4 separate regions of the Homo sapiens genome follow, and all the other regions are linked to region 3. The links are contacts of gene promoters, found by promoter capture Hi-C in blood cells and fetal thymus (Javierre and others, 2016). All regions are on one chromosome and are shown on one strand. Each heading gives the region's core, a stretch centred on a gene start or on the middle of the fragment in contact. The rest is flanking DNA. Distances are from core to core; before and after follow the strand shown.

Region 1 (2,979 bases), core at 462-2,961, 400 kb before region 3:
TAAGAGGGGTTGCAGCCCAAGGTGTACTAACCCAGCACCTAGAGAAACGCCGGAGTCTAATGGGTGTGTCATAGATATCTGTCGACTCTTGGAGAATAATATCGCTTCTTCCTCACTTCACAGACCATGGAAGGACCCCCAACCTTCAACCCGGTATGGCTTGGGGAAACAGAGATGGATGGTGGGGAGGGGGCACGGATCTCCAGGGAATCTGAGACAGCCAGAAAGGGAGTGGGCTGAGGGTTTTGGGGTGGGAGGTAGGGGAAGGGTAGATAGAGTTCGTGGTCAGGTTTAGGGAGCAGAAGGAATTGGGGATGTTTTCCAGGAGGAGTGGGACCTCTCAGAAAATTTGTTCTTGGGCTGGACATGGTGGCTCACGCCTGTAATCCCAGCACTTTGGGATGCCAAGGCGGACAGATCACGAGGTCAGGAGATCGATCGAGACCATCCTGGCCAGCATAGTGAAACTCTGTCTCTACTAAAAATACAAAAATTAGCTGGGCATGGTGGCGCGCGCCTGTAATCCCAGCTACTCAGGAAGCTGAGGCAGGAGAATCGCTTGAACCAGGGAGTCGGAGGTTGCAGTGAGCCGGGATCGTGCCACAGTACTCCAACCTGGTGACAGAACGAGACTCCATCTCAAAAAAAAAAAAAAAAAAAAAAAAAGAAAAAGAAAAGAAAAAGAAAATTTATTCTTGGCCAGACACGGTGGCTCATGCCTATAATCCCAGCCCTTTGGGAGGCCAAGGCAGGTGGATCACTTGAGGTCAAGAGTTCCAGATCAGCCTGGTCAACATGATGAATCCCCGTCTCTACTAAAATGACAAAAGTTAGCCAGGTGTGGTGGCGCACACCTGTAATCCCAGCTACTAGGAAGGCTGAGGCAGCAGAATTGCTTGAACCTAGGAGGCAGAGGTTGCAGTGAGCTGAGATTATGCCACTACACTCCAGCCTGGGCGTCAGAGGGAGACTCTGCCTAAAAAAAAAAACAAAATTTGTTCCTTTGTTCCTGCAAGGCTGGGCGTGGTGGCTCACGCCTGTAATCCCAGCACTTCGGGAGGCTGAGATGGGAGGATTGCTTGAGCCCAGCAGTTTGAGGCTGCAGTGAGGCTTGATCATGCCACTGCACTCCAGCCTGGGTGACAGAGTAAGACCCCATCTCTTATAAGAAAAAAAGACAGGAAAGAAAAGAAAAGAAAAAGAAAATTTCTTCCCACATCTGGCTCTGCTAAGCTGAGAGAGAATGGGACCCCCCGTTCTCTTCCCACAGCCTGTGCCATATTTCGGGAGGCTGCAAGGAGGGCTCACAGCTCGAAGAACCATCATCATCAAGGGCTATGTGCCTCCCACAGGCAAGAGGTATAACGTAAACTAGGTGGGAACCCCCAGCCCCCTCCTCCCTCAGACCCAACAATCTAGACCCTCTGTCCCCTCCTCCTTTAGGGATTCAGAGGTCCAGCCCACTGGCCTCTTCCCACTGGACTCCATCTGACTCCCCCATCCCTCTCTGTCCCCAGCTTTGCTATCAACTTCAAGGTGGGCTCCTCAGGGGACATAGCTCTGCACATTAATCCCCGCATGGGCAACGGTACCGTGGTCCGGAACAGCCTTCTGAATGGCTCGTGGGGATCCGAGGAGAAGAAGATCACCCACAACCCATTTGGTCCCGGACAGTTCTTTGATGTGAGTCTGAGCTCTCTTTTCCCACTTCCTTCCAGGGCCTCAGTCCTGGCCCTGGCCTCATGCCCACCCTTCTCCCTGCAGCTGTCCATTCGCTGTGGCTTGGATCGCTTCAAGGTTTACGCCAATGGCCAGCACCTCTTTGACTTTGCCCATCGCCTCTCGGCCTTCCAGAGGGTGGACACATTGGAAATCCAGGGTGATGTCACCTTGTCCTATGTCCAGATCTAATCTATTCCTGGGGCCATAACTCATGGGAAAACAGAATTATCCCCTAGGACTCCTTTCTAAGCCCCTAATAAAATGTCTGAGGGTGTCTCATGAGTGTGTGTCTCCATCTGCTCCCCGGCTACTCTTCCCTTCCTTGGTTCAGTCATGCACTTCATCTATCCTTCATCCATCCAGTCATCTGACCATCCATCCTCCTGTCATCATAAATCTGGTTATGCCCCAAGCACTGATTTAGGGCTCATTCACTTCTCACAGCAACCCCAAGAGGTAGAAACAATTATTATCATCCCTCTGTAACAGATGAGGAAACAAAGGAAAATAAAACAAATTGCCCAAATTATACATTGCATAAATGGCAGAAGGAGGATTCAAATCCAGCTGATCTGGCTCCCAAGGATCTGCACACTTAACCACTATACAGCCTGTCGTTCCATCCATCCATGCATCCATCTCTCCACTCGTGTATCCCAACATCCATCAATCTCTCCATGTATCCAACCAAAAGTCCATCCAACCATCCATCAATCAAACATCCAACCATCTAGACCTCATCAATCCATCCATTGAGCTGATTGTTCAACCATCCTTTCATCCAACCCTTTATCCATCTACCCATCCATTTACCTCTGCACTCATCATCTCATCGTCAATCTCTCCAAACATCCAGTCAACCATATGTTCACCCATTCATCCAAACATGCAACTATTCATCTACTCACCAGTCTGTCTAGCTCTATCCAGCTGTTTATCCATCCATTCTTTCATTCAACCTTTTATCCATCACCCATGCATCTGATCATCCATCATCTTCTCCATCCATCCAAACATCTAACCATATACCAGTCTATCTGTCTATTCATTCAGCCATCCTTACGAAGTCTAACTTTCGTCCATCCATTCATTTATTCATCCCTCCATTTGTCCATGTAATTCTCTGCTTTCCATCACAGTCATCCATTTGTCCTCCATATGCCCATTCATCCCTCCATTCAGCAATTCATCACTTTTCCATCTCTTTCTATCCAATTATCCATTCATCTCTTCATTATCTATTTTTTTCCAACCCTT
Region 2 (3,135 bases), core at 2-2,501, 510 kb after region 3:
AACATCATTTTTCCCTGTGTTCACACTATGAAATTTGCACACAGAGACTCTGCAGGGTTGTGTTCCCTCATGCATTGGGGGATTTGTTACATGCTTGTGAAGTATAGCTGTGCCACAGGTGATAAGTTATGCACGTGTGAGTGTAACAGGAGTAGGTCCTTCGGGTGGGAAGCATGACTTTGGGAACTGCTCCAACTGTGACTTGTGCGAGAATATATTTAGTGCCTCTGTGCCCTGGCCTCTTAGTTTATGCCACGCCTCTCTCCAGCAACCTTCGGAAGACCCAAAGAACTGCCTGATTGTGCTGAGTGACCGGTCCCAGGTACTGTTCAAAGAGTCTCGCTATCCTCAAAATATGCCGTGTGTATGCTATTACTTCAGTGATGCCCACTTCTTCGCCTCCCTCTCTTGGGTGACATCAAACACAAAAGAAATACAAGTAAGACTGCCTTTCTTACCCTTCTTGGCCCATTCTCCAAGAGCCATGCCCATATAACTGTTAGCCCAGATTGACAAAGGAGGATATTCCCCATGGATGAATGTGGTCTGGAACCAGAAATCTCTCCTCATCCTTTCTCCAATTATAGTCCCCATGTTGAGTAGGTTGTATGGTTCCCCCGAAGTAAACCAAGGTTAGGAAAAGGGTCCTAGGATTCCTGCCTCTACCGTATTTCCAATTCCCATCACCAAGGGATAAAATCACTTGAGTCCTCCAATTCCTCCTTAACATAAAACATGGGGAAATAAGGGAATATTCTGCCCTACCATCAGCTCTAGGCAGTTTCATCTTTTTTTTTTTTTTTTTTTTTTGAGACAGAGTCTCGCTCTGTCACGCAGGCTGGAGTGCAGTGGCGCAATCTTGGCTCACTGCAGCCTTTGCCTCCCAAATTCAAGCGATTCTCCTGCCTCAGCCTCTCGAGTAGCTGGGATTACAGGCACCGACACCACACCCAGCTAATTTTTGTATTTTTAGTAGAGATGGGGTTTCACCATGTTGGCCAGGCTGCTCTCGAACTCCTGACCTCAGGTGATCCACCCGCCTCGGCCTCCCAAAGTGCTGGGATTACAGGCATGAACCACCTCACCCGGCCTAGGCAGTTTCCTTCTTATTCTCTTCTAGGCTGTAGCATGGATGAAGAGCAAAACTGAGGACATGGTTGAGAAAAGAACATTCTCCATGACTGAACGATTGCCACCCATCCAGTCCATGGTCCATGCAGGCTCCTTTCATATCCTCGTGGTCTACTGTGGTGACCTGATCCTGCGACTCTTTGGGGACCACTTTCGGGCATTCAAACCCCTGGGTAAAGTGCCCTGCCGCTTCAACATCAGCTGCCTCTGCTATGACCCGGAAATGAAGATGCTTCTGTCTGGCATCCTGGGGGCAGTGGTGACCTGGGTCATTGAGCTAGGTGGCACGGGCCTCCAAATAGCCCACATGGTCTCCATGCCAGGTGATGAGCTTGTCCAGGACATCGTGCTGAATGGTCCCAGTGGCTCCCTCCTGGCCCTGTGTGAGACGGTGGTGAGGGTCCTTATGCACCAGGGCAAGGGCCAGCTGGGAGAGGTAAAGAGGTTCACGTCCACCAGCAGCGGCTCCTCCATCACCTGCTGCTTCACCTGTTTTGATCAGGGCTTTCTCTATGCTGGAAACCAAGCTGGGGAAATCCAAGTTTGGAGCCTCCAGCAGGGCCATCCACTCCACAGTTTCCAGGCCCATCAATCAGGAGTGATCTGTATCCGCAGCCGACCAGAGGCCCACACCCTGCTAACAGCTGGTAGTGACAGCCTAATCAAGGAGTGGAACCTGACTTCAGGGAGCCTGCTTCGGCGGCTAGAGCTTGGTGAGGAGCTATACCGGCTCCAGTTTATTGACAGCATTACTTTCTTCTGCCAAACTGCCCATAGTTTTTCCTTGCACCGCCTGCCCTGCTTCTACAGCCTCTTCAATGTCTGTGGCTCTGCTCCCCAGCAGTTGCGTCGGGTCTGCTGTGGAAATAACTGGTTCCGGATCCTGTGTACCACTGAGGATGGCTTGTTGCGCTTTGTGTCCCCAGTAACAGGGGACCTTCTGGTTATCACCTGGCCCTTCTCAATCCTGGACCAGGCTGTGGATTGGGCCTACGACCCAGGTAAAGAGGAGCTCTTTGTAGCAACAGGCAGCTCAGAGGTTCTGGTATTTGACACAACCCGCTGCCCTTGCCCAGCCAAGTATCTCTTAGGCACCTCACCAAATTCTCAGGACTTTGTACAATGCCTGGCTTATGGGCATTTCAACTTGGGGCGGGGTCTAGAGGGACTGATATTCTCTGGGCACCAGAGTGGTGTGATAAGAGTGCTCTCCCAGCACAGCTGTGCTCGATTAGAAAAATTCATGCACTTTGGCGCTGTACTGGCACTCTCCACGCTGTCTGGAGGGATTTTTGGTGGCCAAGGAAACTCTCTGCTCTGTTCCTATGGAATGGATGACTATGTGCACCTGTCAGAAGCTGTGCTTGATGGGGTCAAAGTACAACTGCGGCCTCTCGCCAGCATTCTCAGCAGCTGTCACCTAACACATCTGATACTCTTGCCCAAGTCTGTGGGTGCCATCACAGAGACAAACTGCCTGCGTCTCTGGAAGTTCCATGATTTTCTGTCCTCTGGGTCACAGAATGGCTTGAAATTCATAGAAACACTGCCTCTGCACCTGTGTGCCATCACATCCTTTGATGTCTGCCTCTCCTTGAGTCTTTTTGTCACAGGTTCTGCCGATGGCTCTGTTCGGATCTGGGACTTCCATGGCAGACTCATAGGCATTCTGGACTCATCACTGCACTTTGGCCCAGTCTGTTTTGCAAATGACCGGGGTGACCTGCTTGTGACTTTTAACCAGAGTCTTTACCTAGTGTCCTGTTTAAAATTGCTTCCCCCAGCCCTGCTGACTCGCCTTTCCTTTATGAGCATATCAGATGAAGTACTGGAAGTCCCTAAGCCTTTCATACCAAGCTTCTTCTTCTCCTTTGAGACCATGTTTGTGCCCAAGTACATCTACCCTGGACAAGCGCAACAGAAATTAGTGGGTCTGGAGAAACTTGTCAACAACCGGGCCATTGCCTTTGACCATTCTGTGCCACATGTGATAGAAGAAGATGA
Region 3 (2,835 bases), core at 310-2,809:
GGCTGAAGCAGGAAAATCGCTTGAACCAGGAAGTTGGAGGTTGCAGTGAGCTGAGATCATGTCACTGTACTCCAGCCTGGCAACAGGGCGAGACTCCATTTCAAAAAAAAAAGAGGCTCCACCGGCTTTAAAACCTCCACCTTTGCCCAGGCACAGTGGCTCATGCCTGTAGCCTGTAATCCCAACACCTTGGGAGGCTGAGGTGGGAGGATCGCTTGAAGCCAGGAGTTGAAGACCAGACAGGGCAACATAGGGAGACCCCACCTCCACTTAAAAACAAAACAAAACAAAATCCTCCACCTTCTAGTCCCCCCCACCTAAAGCCTTCCAGAGTAAGCCCCACCTTGAGACCCTGTCCCCTCCTACGAATTCCACTCCTGCCCACTTTGAAACCTCAAGCCTTCCTCCTAATCCAACCCACTTGAGCTCCTAGGCCCTCCAATTAAAATTCTAACCCCGGGCCGGGCGTGGTGGGCTCACGCCTGTAATCCCAACACTTTGGGAGGCCGAGGTGGACAGATCACCTGGGGTCAGGAGTTCGAGACCTGCCTGGCTAACATGGTGAAACCCCGTTTCTACTAAAAATAGCCGAGTGTGGTGTCGCGCGCCTGTAATCCCAGCTACTCGGGAGGCTGAGGCAAGAGAATCACTTGAACCTGGGAGGTGGAGGTTGCAGTGAGCCGAGATCACGCCACTGCACTCCAGCTTGGGTAACAAGAGTGAAACTCCATCTCAAAAATAATAATAATAAAATAAATAAAAAATAAAACGAAATTCTACCCCCGCCCATTTTAGAGCGCTCTGCTTGCCCCAACATGCTCACCCCACCCACCTCGTACCCTCTGGGCCGCCCCAAAGTTCTGACCACACCCCTTGGGAACCTCGATTTCCCCTAAAAAGTCAGAGCCCGCCGCTCCGGAGGCCATGGCCTTGCCACTTCTGCATCCCGGGACTCACGCAGCAGGCGCAGTCCGGCACCGGGTTCCCGAAGCGCAGCCGCGCCATCCCCGCCGCAGAGCGCGCGATCCGGGCAGTGCAGCTCCCGCAGCAGGCTGCCGAGCTGCCGCAGAAAGTCCTCCTCCGCGCCAGGGCCTGCGAGGACAGGGGTGTCAGGGCTCGGTGGCCCCGTGGCGGCCCCCCTGCCACCCTCCCGCTCCGTGTTTACCGTCGCCGGCGCTCAGCACCTCCGCGCCCGCCTCTCGCTGCTGCTCGAGGGCGCCCAGCGTCGCCAGCTCCGCCGCCAGCCGCACGCACAGCCCCCTGAAGTCTGGGCATGAGGCGCCCCGCGACGCCGCCCCCGGGACACCTCCATACCTGTGGGGACCGAGGCAGCGGGAGGGGGCGGGGATGTCACTGGGAATCCCTTTTCGTCCGCGTCCAGGGGGCAGACCTGGCCTTCCTGCACCCACCAGCCTCACCGCACACCCTTTTACCCCAGAGCCAGCAGGTCCTGGGCCACCGCGGCCCCCTCCCACGCTTCCGCCTTCACCGCCTCCATGAAAGTGTGGTCTCGGCGCGCCCCCTGGCGGCCGGTGGCAGGCTCCGCCCCAAAAGCGCCGCGCGCACGAGCTCCCCGCAGCGTCCGGCGGCACTGACCAATCGGCATCTTCCCGCGCAGGGGCTTGGGTGCTCCCATTGGCGCAGGAGGACGCCGAACCCGCCCCGGGGCCCGCCCGCCCCGCCCCTCGGCTAACCTGTCGGGGTTGTAGGAACGCCCCCTGGAGCTGTAAATTGCAGTGCGTTCGGGATCTCCGCTGTCAAGACAAGCTGGCGGCGGGTGTCACTGTTGCGGCGACATAAAAACAACTTCGGTGCCATTTTCCTTTTCCTCCCTCAGTTGTCTTCTGCTGGTGTTTTGTTGGTTTGTTTTTGAGGCAGATTTCGCTCTATCGTTCAGGCTGGACTGCAGTGGCGCCATCGCGGCTCACTGCAGTCTCGACCTTCTGGGCTCAAGAGATCCTCCCGCCTCAGCCTCCCAGCTAAATTTTTAAAAATCAGTCAGCCTTGGTGGCTTACACCTAGTAGCTGGGACCACAGGCGCAGACCACCGCGCCTGGCTGATTTGTTTTTAATTTTTTTGTAGAGACAAGGTTTCCTCATGTTGCCCAGCCTGGTTTCCAACTGCTGGGTTCAAGCGATCCGCCTGCCTCGGCCTCCCAAAGTGCTGGAATTACAGGCGTGAGCCACTGCAACCGGCCAATTTTTTTTTTTTTTTAAAGTTTTGTAGAGGCCGGGCACGGTGGCTCACGCATGTAATCCCAGCACTTTGGGAGGCTGAGGTGGGTGGATCACTTGAGGTCAGGAGTTCGAGACCAGCCTGGGCACATGGTGAAACCTCATCTCTAATAAAAATACAAAAATTAGCCGGGCGTGGTGGCACACGCCTGTAGTCACCACTATTTGGGAGGCTGAGGCAGGAGAATTGCTTGAGCCCGGGAGACACAGACTGCAGTGAGCCAAGATCGCGCCACTGCACTCCAGCCTGGGGACAGAGCAAGACTCCGTGTCAAAAAAGAAATAAAGTTTTGTAGAGAGGGGTCTAGCTATGTCGCCCAGGTTTGCCTCTAACTCCAGTGTTCAAGCAATCCTTCCCTCTCAGCCTTCCAAAGCTTGGGATTACAGGCTTGAGCCAGTGTTCCTGGCCCTGTCCTCTGCTCTTAAAGCAGCCCAGACGGAGTGGTGTTCACCCAACTCTGCCTAAAATCCAAAACTTCCTCCCTCCTTTCCACCTCAGGGTTTGAATTACATAAGGGACCCAGGAATCCCAGCACACCCCTCACACACCAGGCCCTCCTCATCGATCACGATGTGCCTGTTAGGCCTTCACTCCTCTCC
Region 4 (3,263 bases), core at 681-3,180, 380 kb before region 3:
GCACGCCACCATGCCCAGCTTTTTTTTTTTTTTTTTTTTTTTTCCTAGAGAGGAGGTCTCACCATGTTGCCCAGGCTGGTCTCAAACTCCTGGGCTCAAGCGATCCTCCCACCTTGGTCTCCTAAAATGTTGTGATTACAGGCCTGGCCACGGTAATATTTGTGTGTCTTTTTTCGGTTTTAAATAACTAATGTGTTTATTTCCCAATTGTTATTTCATTGAGGTATTTTTCCCATTAAATAAAAGGTTCAGATTTTGTTGTTGTTGTTGTTGTTTTGAGACAGGGTCTTGTTCTGTCGCCCAGGCTGGAGTGCAGTGGTATGATCTCAACTTACTGCAACCTCTGCCTCCCAGATTCAAGTGATCCTCCCACCTCATCCTCCTGAGTGGCTGGGACTACAGGAGTGTGCCACCACACCTGCCTAATTTTTGTATTATTTTGTACTGATGGGGTTTCGCCATGTTGTCCAGGCTGTTCTCAAACTCCTGGACTCAAGTGATCCACCTGCTTTGGCCTCCCAAAGTGCTGGGATTATAGGTGTGAGCCCCTGCTCAGGGTTCAGATTTTAATGGAATAGTTCAATGAGTTTTGACACATATAGTCACCTGTGTAACCACCTCCCCAATCAAGTTTCCTGGTGCCCCTAGAAACAGTCACTGCTCCTTCTGCCACATGAAGCCACTGTCACTCCTGAGCAGTTAGTAGCCACAAAGTTTCCTTTGATCCATTGTGGTGGCATGTGCCTGTAGTCCCAGCTACTCGGGAGGCTAGGGCAGGAGGATCACCTGAGCCCTGGAGGTGGAGGCTACAGTGACCCAAGATCACACCACTGCACTCCAGCCTGGGTAACAAGGCGGGCGGATCACCTGAGGTCAGGAGTTTGAGACCAGCCTGGCCAATGCGACAGCGTGGCGCCTGCCTGTAGTCCCAGCTACTGGGGAGGATGAGGCAAGAGAATCACTTGAACCTGGGAGGCGGAGGCTGCAGTGAGTTAAGATCGCACCTCTGCACTCAAGACTGGGTGACAGAGCGAGACTCGGTCTCAAAAAAGAAAAAAAAGGCCAGGCGCGGTGGCTTACACCTGTAATCCCAGCACTTTGGGAGGCCGAGGCGGGCGGATCACGAGGTCAGGAGATCGAGACCATCCTGGCTAATACGGTGAAACCCCGTCTCTACTAAAAATACAAAAAATTAGCCAGGCGTGGTGGCGGGCACCTGTAGTCCCAGCTACTCAGGAGGCTGAGGCAGGAGAATGGCATGAACCTGGGAGGTGGAGCTTGCAGTGAGCCAAGATCGCGCCACTGCACTCCAGCCTGGGCAACAGAGCAAGACTCCAAGATTCCGTCTCAAAAAAAGAAAAGAAAAGAAAAGAAAAATAAGTTCATTTGCCGTGAAAATGAGAAAGTGGGTTGGGACAGACTGATTTTTCTGATTTTAGGCCTCTTTCAGGATATAACTTAGTTGAAAAGTAACTAATCGCACACTAAGTGTTTGTAGGGATTTAAAACCCCAGGTTCTGTCAGTGCCATTTTGTTAGTGATATTTTGAGTTATTGTTTTTTGTTTTATTTTTGATTTTTTTTTAGTGATTGCTTCACTGTGGCTGGATGTAACTTCACATGTAGCCAACATACTGCAAGTCCCAATGTGCCTTTGCTGATTGGCCAAGGGTTTGCACATTAACTCTGTTATCAGCCCGAAGTCCTGACTCATTTCTGATAACAGATCTACGTCCTTGATGGGTTCTTTTTTTTTTTTCTTTTGAGATGGAGTCTCACTCTGTTGCCCAGGCTGGAGTGCAGTGGCTCAATCTCAGCTCTGCCTCCTGGGTTCAAGCGATTCTCTTGCCTTGGCCTACTTAGTAGCTGGGATTACAAGCATGCACCACCACTCTTGGCTGATTTTTGTATTTTTAGTAGAGATGGGGTTTCACCATGTTGGCCAGGCTGGTCTCGAACTCCTGACCTCAAGTGATCCACCCACCTCAGCTTTCAAAAGTGCTGGGATTACAGATGTGAACTACTGTGCCTAGCCAAGGGTCTGGCTATGTTGCCCAGGCTAGTCTGGAACCTGGGCTTAAGTGATCCTCCAACTTCTGGCCTCCCAAAGTACTGGGATTACAGGTGTGAGCCACCATGCCCTGTGGTTTTGGTTATTTTTTAAACACAGTGAAGATACTTCAGGGACTCCTTTGGTTTTATATATTAACATTCCAGTGATGAAAATGATACAGGTAAAAATCTTTTTAGTGAATTCTAACTGTTCCCACAGTTAAAGACATTTACCCACTATGTAACTAATTATATCTTTCCAAGTAATTTGGTAACCACCACTGAAGATTGGCTTACTCAGCTTCTAACTCACTCCCCAGCGGGCCCACCTTTTTTTTTTTTTTTTTTTTTTTTTTTTTGAGACAGGGCCTTAATCTATTGCCCAGGCAAGATCATCATGCACTGCAGCCTCAACCTCCTGGGCTGAAGCAATCCTCCTGCCTCAGCCGCCAAAGTGGCTGGGACTACAGGCATGTGACACCACCCCCAGTTAATTTTTTTTTTATTTTATTTTAGTAGAGCTGATGCCTCACTATGTGGCCCAGGCTGGTCTCAAACTCTGGAACTCAAGTATCCTCCTGCCTTGGCCTCCCAAAGTGCTGGGATTACAGGCGTGAACCTCCGCACCCAGCCTGGCCTGCTTTCTTGCATTAGGCAGTTAAAAACTACATTTCCCAGAGTTATTTGTAGCTAGATTCACATAGGACTGGGTTTCCCCAAGCTGAGTTTGCACCCCTGGAAAACTCTTTTTTTGAAGACATGCCCTCGTGGCCAGGTACTGTGGCTCACACCTGTAATCCTAGCACTTTGGAGGCTGAGGTGGGCAGTTTGCCTGAGCTCCAGAGTTCAAGACCAGCCTGGGCAACATGGCAAAACCCCGTCTCTACTAAAATACAAAAAATTAGCCTGGCATGGTGGCACGCACCTGTAATCCCAGCTACTGGGTAGGCTGAGGCACAAGAATCACTTGAATCCAGAAGGTGGAGGTTGCAGTGAGCAGAATTTGTGCCACTGCACTCCAGGCTGGGTGACAGAGCAAGACTGTCCAAAAAGAAAGAGAGAGAGAAGGAAGGAAGGAAGGGAGGGAGGGAGGGAGAGAGGGAGGGAAGGAGGGAAGAGAGAGAGAGATGAAAGAAAGAAAGAAAGAAAGAAAAAGAAAGAAAGAAGGAAAGAAAGAAAGAAAGAAAGAAAGAAGAAAGAAAGAAAGAAAGA

Evidence for each region. Contacts are between HindIII fragments. The CHiCAGO score rates a contact against its expected background, and 5 or more counts as called.
Region 1: a fragment that was not itself captured here is called in contact with the fragment with the promoter of FAM98C in region 3 in 2 of 17 cell types (non-activated CD4 T cells and activated CD4 T cells); the score reaches 5.1 in non-activated CD4 T cells.
Region 2: a contact is called between a fragment that was not itself captured here and the fragment with the promoter of FAM98C in region 3, in 1 of 17 cell types (total B cells). The highest score is 6.8, in total B cells.
Region 4: a contact is called between a fragment that was not itself captured here and the fragment with the promoter of FAM98C in region 3, in 1 of 17 cell types (neutrophils). The highest score is 5.6, in neutrophils.

The regions. Positions count from the first base shown.
Region 1 is chr19:38,800,696-38,803,674 of GRCh38, reverse strand. It overlaps LGALS4 (galectin 4), which reads left to right. Exons shown (of 10, transcript NM_006149.4): 7 at 124-153; 8 at 1,271-1,359; 9 at 1,518-1,683; 10 at 1,765-2,001. The coding sequence ends at 1,911. Among named protein-coding and RNA genes, the nearest start is that of LGALS4, 11 kb to the left of the region's middle. The HindIII fragment of the contact is 4,275 bases long and covers 1-2,979 here.
Region 2 is chr19:37,893,442-37,896,576 of GRCh38, reverse strand. It overlaps WDR87 (WD repeat domain 87), which reads left to right. Exons shown (of 6, transcript NM_001291088.2): 3 at 269-439; 4 at 1,121-3,135. All of the region lies in intron 4 of LOC105372395 (a long non-coding RNA gene), which reads right to left. Among named protein-coding and RNA genes, the nearest start is that of WDR87, 12 kb to the left of the region's middle. The HindIII fragment of the contact is 3,479 bases long and covers 1-2,990 here.
Region 3 is chr19:38,401,817-38,404,651 of GRCh38, reverse strand. It overlaps FAM98C (family with sequence similarity 98 member C), which reads right to left and starts at 1,559. Exons shown (of 8, transcript NM_174905.4): 1 at 1,434-1,559; 2 at 1,166-1,314; 3 at 958-1,092. The coding sequence starts at 1,498. RefSeq lists silencers at 1,053-1,252, 1,443-1,772. The HindIII fragment of the contact is 11,725 bases long and covers 1-2,611 here.
Region 4 is chr19:38,782,905-38,786,167 of GRCh38, reverse strand. No RefSeq gene overlaps it. Among named protein-coding and RNA genes, the nearest start is that of LGALS7B, 4.7 kb to the left of the region's middle. The HindIII fragment of the contact is 5,003 bases long and covers 1-3,263 here.